2 separate regions of the Homo sapiens genome follow, and region 2 is linked to region 1. The links are contacts of gene promoters, found by promoter capture Hi-C in human tissues and cell types (Jung and others, 2019). All regions are on one chromosome and are shown on one strand. The core of a region is centred on a gene start or on the middle of the fragment in contact, and the rest is flanking DNA. Distances in the headings are between cores, read along the strand shown.

The links. The method cuts DNA at HindIII sites, captures the fragments that hold promoters and counts their contacts. A contact is called where the count stands out against the background at its distance.
Region 2: a contact is called between a fragment that was not itself captured here and the fragment with the promoter of RANBP3L in region 1, in 2 of the 25 tissues and cell types used here (dorsolateral prefrontal cortex and spleen).

The regions. Positions count from the first base shown.
Region 1 is chr5:36,298,179-36,304,435 of GRCh38, forward strand. It overlaps RANBP3L (RAN binding protein 3 like), which reads right to left and starts at 3,724. Exons shown (of 14, transcript NM_145000.5): 1 at 3,148-3,724. The coding sequence starts at 3,238. All of the region lies in intron 1 of LOC124900962 (a long non-coding RNA gene), which reads left to right. The HindIII fragment of the contact is 10,640 bases long and covers 1,353-6,257 here.
Region 2 is chr5:36,830,560-36,836,816 of GRCh38, forward strand. No RefSeq gene overlaps it. Among named protein-coding and RNA genes, the nearest start is that of NIPBL-DT, 43 kb to the right of the region's middle. The HindIII fragment of the contact is 4,598 bases long and covers 1,656-6,253 here.

The sequences.
Region 1 (6,257 bases), core at 2,474-4,973:
AGTCCGAGCTACTCAGGAGACGGAGGCAGAAGAATCACTTGAACCCGGGAGGCAGAGGTTGCAGTGAGCCGAGATCATGCCACTGCACTCCAGCCTGGGTGACAGAGTGAGACTCCATCTTAAAAAAAAAAAAAAAAAGGAAAAGAAAATATGTATGTGTTGAAGCTAGTCACGCCTACAGAAGTGTCGAATGTCAATTAATCATAGTCTGTATGCTAAATAATAGAGGCAGAACTTTAGGCTGGCTGGGGAAAGGCCAAAGCCGTGAACCCAGGATGATTCCATGAATAAAGCCAGACCTCACTCTCTAAAACAAATGGCTTTGCTTCCTGGGACCTTTGCTGAACTTCACATAATAGCAAGGTGCAAAAATAGCTTGGAGGAAAAAGCAGGGCCACTGCTCTGAATGAATACTTTAAAACTCCAGGACAGTAACTGGAATGCAATTTAGCAACACAGCAAATACTACCCAGCTCAAATCACTAGATGATATTTCTTGCAGCAATCAATGGCCAGTCTGGACTGCATTAGCATGCTTCACAACTTTATGGATTGTGGCTTATGTGGGCAGATATTTTGAGACTTGGGTGTGGAAGAATATGCTTGCTTTCAAAACATTCTAGGCAAAAAGCTAAGTCTGAGAAAGAAGACCAGTCTTGTGGGTATTTTGGGAAGTATGTCATCATAGTGATTATTTCCAGGCTTCTCTGGATATTGCCAGTGTGATGGTTCATGCTGAGTGTCAACTTGATTGGATTGAAGGATACAAAGTATTGATCCTGGGTGTGTCTGTGAGGGCGTTGCCAAAAGAGATTAGCATTTAAGTCACTGGGCTGGGGAAGGCAGATCCACCCTTAATCTAGTGGGCACAATCTAATCAGCTGCCAGCAAATACAAAGCAGGCAAAAAAACGTGAAAAGGTGACTGGCCTAGCCTCCCAGCCTACATCTTTCTCTCTTGCTATTTGTCCTTGAACATTGGATTCCAAGTTCTTCAGTTTTGGGAGTCAGACTGGCTCTCCTTGCTCCTCAGTTTGCAGACAGCCTATTGTGGGACCTTGTGACTGTGTAAGTTAATACTTAATAAACTCATCTTTATATACATATACACACATATATACACATACGTATATCTGTATATATATACACATACATATATGTGTGTGTGTGTGTGTGTGTGTGTGTGTGTATATATCCTATTAGTTCTGTCCCTCTAGAGAACTTTGATTAATACAGCCAGTAAAGGAGAGATCTTCAGGATAGCCTGGCTTAAAACAATAGTGGGGTATTATTTTTCACCTATAAAATTGAGAAGGAGTTTAAAAAATAATAGTATTACTGAGAACATACCCCAACACTGCTGATAGGAGGGTCACTTGGCCAAAAACAATTTTTAAGAATGTATAATCCTTTGACTCCACAATTTCACTTCTAAGAATTTATGCGAAGAAAATAATCCCATATCAGTGCAAAGATCTATTCATTAGTTTAGGTGCAGTCCAGTGTTAATTATAATAGTTAAAATATTAGAAATAAATAATATATCTAACAGTAGAGAATTGCCTAAGGGAATTTTGCTACATCCATATAAAGGAACAGTGTGCAACTGTTAAAAATAAGGTTGTAGAAGAATATTTAATGACCTGGAAATTTGTTCATCCTCTGTCATTAAATTAAAAAGCAGTTTACAAAACACTGTTTACAAAAGTATCCAGAACAAGTCTATATTGTTTAAAAAGCAAGCAAAGGAATAATCCATACAAGTGCATAGAAGAAAAGTCTAGAAGTTTATACATTAAAATGTTAATAGCAATTATCTTTGGGTGGTGGGGTTACAGGTGACTTCTTTAGGCTCACCCCCACCAAATTTTCTATTAAAATTATCATATTAGCAATTGAAGTGGGGGGAAGTCACTTTAACATTTCATACAAAGTCAACAGAAAACAAAAACCTCTGATAAACTAGAATTGTTTACTAACAGAGAAGCAAGAGCATTTTACAGTGCTATGCCTTAACCCTGACACATTCCAGGACTTTACATTCTAGGGTACTTGGTTCAAAATTTATTTGAGCACTAGTAGTAAAGCATGGTCTAAAAGTTCACATTGTTTTCATTTACCATGAAGTATTTTCTGCCGACACTATGCTAAGCCTTGTAGAGCATGAAGTCATGTTATACAGCTCCAGGAACCGATGCAGAGAGGTGGCCTGACACATTCATGTGACTGTTAGCACACAGATTCCATCTTGGAAATGGGAGGTTTTGGCCCTTTAGCCAACACTCTCCACACCACTGAAATCTAAAACTGCGTCTACAGAAAAATAATTAAAGAGCTCATTGCCTAGACCTACACATAAAAAGATCTATCCTAGGTTATTGAGGAGAAGTTAGAAGTGTCTGGTGAATCCTTAACCTCTGTGGAGTGATGATGTCATCCATGAGAGACCCAGCCTTTCCCACAAGTGTCATTTGCTGTCCCTGACAGGGTGGATTGGAGGGATCATCTTGTCTATTCATGTCAACCATCTGACACTAACTCAGCTGGCTGGAGAGTGGATTTGAAAATTTAAAAAGACTGATGGTGAAAATGGCTGGGAGGTAGATAGTTTAGTTTGAATGAGTGCCCAGCAAGTGAAATGTGACACTTTTCCCTGACTGTCTCCAGATGTCCCTGGACCATAAAAAGGAAAGAGTCAAGAATATATTTATTTTTCCCACAATGAATGAGCCAGAGATCCAGACAAACTTAGGCTTAAACAAAGTGAAAAAAGTGTCCCACCAGTGGTACTATGGTAGAGAAAGCTCCAGGCTAACTTAAAGCTACTCTCAGCTGAAATCCCCCTTGTAGCTGACTCAGCCTTGCTCAGATGGGTGTTTTGAATTAGACAAAATCTAGCATACTCTAAAAAACACAGTGGCTAGAAGTTTAAGCATGTAAGTTTCAGAATGACAGCTCCAAGGAATATGCATTCTTGACAGTCTTCCATAGTCCTCTAAAAATCAATAGTGAATCCAAGTTAACCCACCCTTATGCATCACTATTATGTCAGAGCTTCCCCGGGTCCTTCACCAGCCCACCATTCTTCCTGGAATGCAAATGCACAGAAGGTCACAGAATATGCAACTCATGAGCTGGACGGACTCACCTTGCTGTCGCCGGTCCTCCTGCAGCTTCAGTTTACAGGTGTGCAAACTGCCAGGCAGGTGGCTGCTGCCTTTTCTTGGTATGGTAGTCATGGTCCTAGCAGTATGGCTGTGACTCAAGGATCACTAGGGCACCTCCTTCTCTGGCCAGTCACCTAAAGTGGCCTTCACCAGACACCCAGAAATACATAGATTCATGCAGATCTTGTCTTTGCATGTACAACATATACTCCTCTACTAAACTTCCAAGCTTTTTCCAGTCATGATTCTTGAAATAAATAATCACCAATGTTACTTCTCCTAAATATAAAGATGCCAATTCATTTGGTTAAAAACACAACTTAATTCCTTCATTTCAAAACAAATTGAAACTAAACCTCCTTATAGAGTAAAATTCTACAAATTAACTATTTCTAACAGATTACACTTTTGTCATTTTTAAATTCCTTTTGGCGACATGAAATCCAATGCCTCCAGTATTTAGAGAAGGCTGCTAAAATAATACAGACACAAAGAAAAGAAAAAGTGCTGCTGAGTTAAGTCAAGTGATTTCTAAGCCTGATCTGAGTTACCCTCTGTGACAGCTGAAAGTGTACAGTTCTTAAGGGACTCTGGAAGGAGGAGGAGCAAAGTGGGCTAGGATGATTAGCATAAAGAGGCAGGCAAGACGGGCATTGGAGCTGCTTTGAATAATAGTGAACAAAGCACAGATTCTAAAGATGCCCTGCCCTTATGTTACAGTAACTGAGTACCTGATTTCTGCTACTTTGTTTGTAATTAAAATGCAAGCTGAAAGCAGGAGTTTATACTGCAAGGACATTCATTTGTGCATGTGAAATCTAAAAGGTATAAATGGAACTGGTAATGAGCTCATGGAAATGTACTGCTGGAACTTTCAATTTCTGTAAACACCTCCTAGTCTTCGGAAGGGAGCAGTTAGAGGGCAGCCTTCCTGCCAAGGCAACTATTTGGAGTTCTGGAAGAAAAATAAACACACAAAACATTATCTTTCCAGAGTCCTATTTCTGTTTCCCACTTAGAGTTCTTATTGCTACTTCTAGGTCATAGGAGAAAGTAATTTCCAGTTTTACTCGTTGGCTATTTCCTTACTGTTTGGAAACATAAACCCCAAACACCATTAATTTAACTTGAGAGCTTGCCATAACTGAAGTCATAATGAATGCTGGTAGGTCCTGCCCTTCAAGAGTCACAGCTCTTCGCAGATTCAGAAAGAAGGTAGTGGGCAGGACTAAGGAGAAAGGCAGAGCTGTTTAGCCTCGAAGTCTGGACTCTGCAGCTTCTTATGTGCATTTGGAAATTGGTGTTAAACTTGACACTGTAATGAATTTACCTCCTAACCAGATCTGGGTGGCTGCCCTCATTTTACTTTGAGGCAATTAACAATTCCCCAAGTATAGTCTGGTTTATGAAAATTTTTATGAAGTAGGTGATTGATCTTTTATAATTCTTGAATGCTTTAATTGTTTCAGTAGTCTATCTACTGCAGTTTTAGGCTAATCACAGTGTAACAGATGACAGAAGTGTTGTGCTACTTTGAAAGAGAGTCTTGTTATTGGAGAGTCATAGTTTCTACTTTAAATGTCTGCTATTCATCTCATCTTCCACAAAAGCCATGGTGGAGAGACAAGGTGATTTTTCCTGAATATGTAAAGTTATTGTTATTCTATCAAGTTATGTACCTCACTAATAAGCATATTATTATACAGGTAAGTTAAATAACCTACAAAACTGTAAGCCAGCCCTTTTGAGAAATACATTTAAAATGTTTTATGATGAAAAAATTTAAAAATACATGAATAGGAGAGAATAGCACAATAAGCCCTGCATACTCATCACTTGGCTTCAATATTATCAACTCATAGACAATCGTGTCTTAAAACTATGTGTTTCATTATAGCTGTTCTCCCCCTTATTACACCACTGGAGTTGAAGCATCCAGACATCATTGCATTAATAAATATTTCAGTGTATATTTCTAAAATGTGAGGATTTAAAAATAGATAACCATAATAAGATAGTCACGCACATAACAATTAAATATGATTATTTGATGTAATTAAGCATCCACACAGTGTTCTTATTTTCCTGATTGTCTCATAAACTTTTTTATCTTTACATTTTTTGCAAATTGGGACCCAAAGGTCCACACATTGTATTTGGTTGATATGTTTCTCAAGTCTTTTTTAATCTATAGGTTCATCTCAGAGAGAAATGTTGCTTGGAGATGAACATCTACACTTACCCTAATTTATGTCTGATTTTTTCAAGGAAGCCCCCTAGATGCCTCCATTTTTCTTACTCAGGAAAAAAAGAGAAAAAAAAAGGGTGGTCATCTGGCCATGGAGGCTAAGACATCCAGCTTTCTTGCCATGGTGTTCTCATTCATATACAGTGCAACCTTGACCCAGCCACTTAACATTTCTGGGTTTGTGTCTTCATTTAGCATATGAAACAAATGTTTGCTAAGCAATGGGATAAATTATTCAACACTCATTCTATGGATATAAAGGCCTGGGAAAGGGAGGAGTATCCTACTTTGTCTCTGACTAGAGCCTAAGGAGAAAGAAATAGATTTAAAACTAAAATCTGGGTAGGATTTAGGGGTATATTTGAAAATCTAGTCCCTCAGTTTTCAAACTTAGCTAAGAATCATAATTACCTAGGCCATATTGTAAAGATGTAGATTCCCGAGCCCCAACTGCACAGTCTGATGCCTAAGGTGCAATCTGGAATCTATATATTTTTATAAGTCCTCTAGTCTAAATAAACAAGCATTATCTGCTTAAACGGAGCTGGTTTGTTCCACTATTTCATTCATTACATCTTTCTTGAGGGCCGAAGAAACCAAACCCTCCTTAAACAGTAATTTCAAGTGCCACAACGTAAGGGGACAGGGAGGATACAAAGGAATGCTACTGGTTCCTCTTTCGTGCATCAACGAGGCAGTCCCAGGCAGTGGCCTTGTGAGGGATTAGCTGAGTCAAGGGAATCCTGGGTTCCTACACTGCCTGTTAAGTTCCATTGCTGTTCTCGAAGGAGTCTCTGGTTTGATTTACCAGTTTCCACTGGAAATCATCCAGCATGGCAGAAA
Region 2 (6,257 bases), core at 2,705-5,204, 530 kb after region 1:
CATGGTGGCTCACGCTTGTAATCCCAGCACTTTGGGAGGCCGAGGCAGGTGGATCACTTGAGGTCAGGAGTTCGAGACCAGCCTGGCCAACATAGTAAAACTCTGTCTACACTAAAAATACAAAAGTTAGCTGGGTGTGGTGGCAGGTGCCTGTAGTCCCAGCTGCTTAGGAAGCTGAGGCAGGCGAATCGCTTGAACCCAGGAGGCAAAGGTTGCAGTGAGCTGAGATCGTACCACTGCACTCCAGCCTGGGCAACAGCGTGAGACTCTGCCTCAAAATAAAAATAAAAATAAAAATAAATAAATAAATATATATATATATATAAAACTTCTTATGAAACAGTTGTATTTCAATAACACTACAGTGTAATGATAAATGTGATACACATAAAGCCAATTTTGAAGGAAAAAAAAGCAGATGGTACACTTTAGTGCATTTCTCACTAACATTTAACTCTCAACAATCACTGCTTAATCTGACCTTCATTTGCCCAGACTGGATTAGAATGCTCCTTTTTAACTCAATCCCTCTATGTTAACTTTTTATACTATTTGATTTATGTGCTTTTGGTTTTGCCATCATTAACCTAAGTAATTCGAAAAGTCTTGAATAAATGAGGACTAAGTCAGATAACTATTTCAATTAACTCACTTTTCAGTTCTTAAAAATTATATTTTGGCCGGGTGTGGTGGCTCACGCCTGTATTCCCAGCACTTGGGGAGGCCGAGGCGGGTGGATCACGAGGTCAGGAGTTTGAGACCAGCCTGACCAACATGGAGAAACCCCGTCTCCACTAAAAATACAAAAATTAGCCGGGTGTGGTGGCACGTGCCTGTAATCCCAGCTACTCAGGAGGCTGAAGCAGGAAAATCACTTGAACCCGGGAGGCAGAGGTTGCAGTGAGCCAAGATCTCGCCACTGCACTCCAGCCTGGACAACAGAGGGAGACTCCATCTCAAAAAAAAAAATATTATATTTTAAGTGATTGTGAAAAGTTTCTCAGATCATACACAGATACACACACATAGACATATATGTATACACGTACATACATAATTGGCAAAACAAAAAAATATAATTTAGATTAAGCTTATTTTCTATTATAAAGTCTGGTATGAAGAATTTTATATTCTATTACAAATGTTTAAGGTTAAATTTTTTATGCCATTAACACAGATGGAATGTTTTTCATTTTTGAGGGAAAAGGAGATTAAAATCTTTGCTGTTTTCTAATTGCTTAACTGAAAAAAACAATCAAGAGGATCCCTATTATTAAGCCACTCTGCAGGATTTATTTTCCAAAGTTTAAGGTTTTAATTTAAAAAGACAATATTACATGTTGTTGTCAATTCCCTTCATATTTCAAGAAAGGATGATCCTTTATTAAAGTTGAAGAGCATTGCATTGCATTAATTATTTTGAAACAACAGCAATTTCCAATTCACTTCAGTAAAATTTAACTTCCTCATAAAATGTCAGTGGACACCCATTTCTTCAATATTGTTCATATCAATTGTCTTTAAATGTTTAAAATGTCAATAACTATTAAATATAAACTCTACTTCTGAAATAGAAATTAAATTTTCGTGAAGTAAAAATTTAAGTAATCATTAAGTGTGTTGACATGTAAATCAATGTTCAAGTTTAGTGTTTTGAAACTTTTACAAAAGAACAAATTCCTTTGTTTTAAACAATTTTAATGAGGACATAGTTGAAAACAAAAACTTCTCAATTGCAATAATTTGGATTTTAATTTCGAAATAATAATCTTTAAAAGTCTAACATTAGTCACAGAAAGGGTTAAATTTATTTTTCACCATTTTGTGTTATGTATAATTAAACAAAAGCAAATTTGTACTCCTTAGGTGTTAGGCTGACATTTCCACTTCTGACTCTGTTTATATTAGACACATTCTTTTAAGCTACTTCAAGTATTTTTGGAACAAAGCAACACACAAAATAAACAAATGCATTATGTTTGTTGACATTTCTTTTTCTAGCATATCTGAATATCTATGTGATCTCCAGGATTGATGATAAAAATCAAACACTATACAGTACTATTTACTGTCGTCTTTTATGTAAGTGAGTTGTAAGAAGGTGAAATTATACTTTGTTTTATATTCAAATAGAAGCAGTAAGATACTGAGTTATTGCCATAAGCAATCTTACAGATAGGTTCCAGAAATAACCAAAAGAACATTAGAAGATGTAACAAGCTTTCTGTCACTTGTATTTATTATTCCTTGTGATAATATGAGCTTTACAAACCCTTTAAGTTCTTACCAAGGACCAAAACAGGCCAACTCTTCCTCCAAGTTATCTCTCCCATATACCCATTCCCACTCTACCCTACCCTACCACCATTCCCAGAAGTAATTCTGACCATAACCTTTCACTTACTCAACCTACCACCCCATTCTCAATGCATTCCTAGGATTCTGCAACCACTAAAATCCAAAGGATAATTTCAAAACTGAGGTAGATATGGTTGGTTGCCTAACATTCCCTAATTTTTCATTGTTTATATAGCAATTTAAGGAACCTTGAATTATTTCTAGCAGTAGCATTTCAGAGAAGGTGGGTTTTCCCTCCAGAAGAGGAAATGAACCATAATTGGTCTAAATGAAGAGTGTAATCTCATCCTGCTTTGTTAATGGTTAATGTGACTTAGTTTTGCCTAATTTTGACCAATGAGATATAAGGGGAAGTCTGCTGACTAGACTTCTAGGAGGGTCTTACTCAAAGTAAAATAATCCTTTCTTTCTGCTTTAAATATATAAGGATGCAACAATCTTGTCACTGTGAGGTGGTTAAGTCTAGAACAATAGGCCAGCAGTCTGAGGAAGGCAGAGAAGAGGGTACCTGGGTCATCTGGAACCCCCTACTTGCAGACTACTTGTTTGCTGAGATATTTGGATGTCTTTGTGGATTATGTAATTAATGATTGGATAATCTGTTACTTGTAATAGAAAATCTTCTTAACTAATTTTCAGAAAAGTAAAAGTTGATAGTTTCCCCATTCCATTCAACTTCAAGCACTATCTAAAGCCTTTTAATGATGCCCCTTTTGGGAGGAGCATAGAGGCTCACACCTGTAATCCCAGCACTTTGGGAAGCCGAGGGGAGCCTCATCGCTTGAGCTCAGGAGTTCGAGATCAGCCTGGCCAACATGGCAAGACCTGTCTCTACCAAAAAAAAAAAAAAAAAAAAAAAACAAGGCCGGGTGCAGTGGCTCATGTCTGTAATCCCAGCACTTTGGGAGGCTGAGGTGGGTAGATCATTTGAGGCCAGGAGTTTGAGACCAGCCTGGCCAACATGGTGAAACCCCGTCTCTACTAAAAATACAAAAAAAAAAAAAAAAAAAAAATTAGCCAGGCGGTAGTGGCGCATCCTGTAATCCCAGCTACTCAGGAGGCGAAGCAGGAGAATCACTTGAACCTGGGAGGCAGAGGTTGCAGTGAGCCAATATTGTGCCACTGCACTCCAGTCTGGATGGCAGAGTGAGACCTGTCAAAAAAAAAAAAAAAAAGATACCTCTTTAGAAGATAAATGTTTTTCTCTTCCATCATTTATTCTGTCTTGTGCTGTATGCCTATTCTAAAATTTTATTACTACACAAGAAGCTTCATGAAATTATGACGAATTAGGTTTGCAAAAAGTCCCAATTTTATGTACCTTGGTCCCATCTTTATGATGTGTCAACTTTTAACGTATATGATCTCCTCCCAAATCCCACCATCAACATTAGAATGTGTTTTCAGGAGAGGATGTTAGAGAGTTATATCCTTAGTATGATTTTAACATCAAGATGCTAGAATGCCCTTAGGCAGTGATTTTTCAATGTATATATACATATCACCTGCATCAGAGTTACCTGCAAGGGTTTCTTAAAAATGCAGAATCCTCAGCCCCATCCCAGAACTGGTGAAACTGGAGTCTCTAAAGGTAGGACCCAGGAATCTGCATTGTATAAGCTCCCTCATTAAGGATTGAGAGCCACAGGCTTAAGGTGACTTATATTTTGTAGAGTTGGTTGGAGGTAAAGGAGACTTTGAGGTAGGGTAAGTCAGACCGTTAAATCATCCTGAAGAAGTGGGACAGCTGGGGACTCTCTTGGCCATTTGCCATGTTACAATGCTTCCTTGTCAGTGAACATACAAACTTCTAAACTTTGATCAGGCACAGTGAGGCTTCCCCTTCTAATGAAATCATTTATGTAATTGATAGCAATAACAAAGTCCATGGACTACTAATTTTTTTGGCTTACACTGAGTTATCTCTGATAGAAAATCTCTGCTAAAAATTGGTTTTTAATACCCGCATGTGAGAAAGTAAAAGTATTAATCAGAGATCATCACTGTCCATCACCTTGAGTATTAAAGGAGATCAGACCCATTAAGGGATGGAAGCAATGACCAGTTTCTGGATATTGCATTCCACCCAGACAAATCCCTTTTTATTCTGCCTTCCTTAAGAAAGATAGCTGGAGTGGAATAGAGGGCAGGGGATCTCTAATTCCTGTTTGGACCTTTGAAATCATTCAACTATTTAGGAAAGACACTACACTACCAGTGGTTTGAGTAATTAGTATAAGTAACATTTCATTATTTACCAATATTATTTTGAGTAGAGAATAAAGAGACTTTGCTGAAAAGTATTTCTCACTGACATCTGAACTTTTCATTCACCGGCTTATAAAATGACCTATTATTTCCAGGAGCTCGCAAGGAAAGGGAGTTTCCGAGATTACTAGCCAAGAATTCCCCTAAAACTGATGACCGTCAATGAATTTGGTTGTGTTTCACCTGAGACTTAAGAGGTACTTGAATACTTAATCAGCTTACCTCCACTGTTCTGCCCCACCTGAATCTTTAGAAGATTCAGGAGCTAAAATCTTTAGAAGATTCAGGAGCTAAAAAGAAGGCCTCTCAAAAATAAGAGACACCTGTCCCCCAGAGATTGGTGGAAGACAAAGGGCAGACAGGTATGATGAGTTCTAGATATTGCAGATGCAAGTGCCCAGATGAGAACAGACTTATCTATTACATGAAAGAAACGGGCCGGGGTAATTGACTATATCAAAATAGCAAGAGCATGGCCCTTCTCAAGTCCAGCTCAGCCAAAAAGTACTATGTAGGAAGATTGCCCAGTGTGGACAAGTCTTCCAATTTTTTAAAAGAAGCTAGAAAGCTGAATGTTTACATGAAAGCTCCCAATTTCTAAATGTTGGTTCAGAAAAATTTTAAACACTGTGTGAGCCAATAAAACACATCTTCAAGGTTGAATTTGGCCTGCAAGCATACACTTGCAACCACAGAGGTTTGCTCTCAAAGGTAAAATAGAAAAGTTAAAAGACTATTAAGGTTTCCAAGCTAACTGGGGAGGACAGGGTTAGGTATATTTTGAAAATTATTAATTTTTTTTTCTCTGCCTTTCTGAGTGCATGACATTGGCCCCATTCTACCTGAAACATTGAAACATCCATTGGCTTTGGAAAAACAAATTAGGAATTTTTCACTGAAAAAATTAAAGAGAAAGACTAAGATAATATTTAGCTTCTGATGTTTAAAAGTTATTTTCTTCTGTGTACTATGTCAGCAAGCAGTAAGTAGCCATAAGTGGATCTGGAAACCAGATAATAGTACTATTTTCCAAATAGTTTAGTTTCCCATAGGTAAATTTAAAGGATCCACAGAGAATTCAGCATGTTCTTCCACTCAATGATAATTTTTCTATAAAATAGAACTCTCTTCTAATGCAGAAAAGCCTGAATAATTACTTGATGTCATGCCAAATATGTAACAGCAGGACAATGTTAGTCAGACAGGGAGTAGGTATGGAGAGAGCCAAGCAAAATGTCCTTTTCTGGAATCAGCAATTCAGGAGTTAAAAGTTCAAAGTGAACGGTGGTCTAGAAATGGGAAGTCATGTCAGAGTCTAGACAAGGTACTTGCAGCACAGTCACTACAGAACAAGGTAGATTGGGATTGCCAGGTCTCAAAAGTCAATGGGGGTAAGATCTAGAACTTCCCAGTTCAATATGGTAGTCTCCAGCCATATGTGGCTAGTGAGAACTTGAAATGTGTCTTGTTTGAATTGAGATGTATTGTAAGTGTAAAACCTACAATGGATTTAGAAGACATTATTTTAAAAGGACATAAAATGTCTCATTAAAATTTTAAATTTTGATTACATGTTGAAACGATAGTATTTTAGATATATTGGGTTAAATATAATATATTCCTAAAATTTA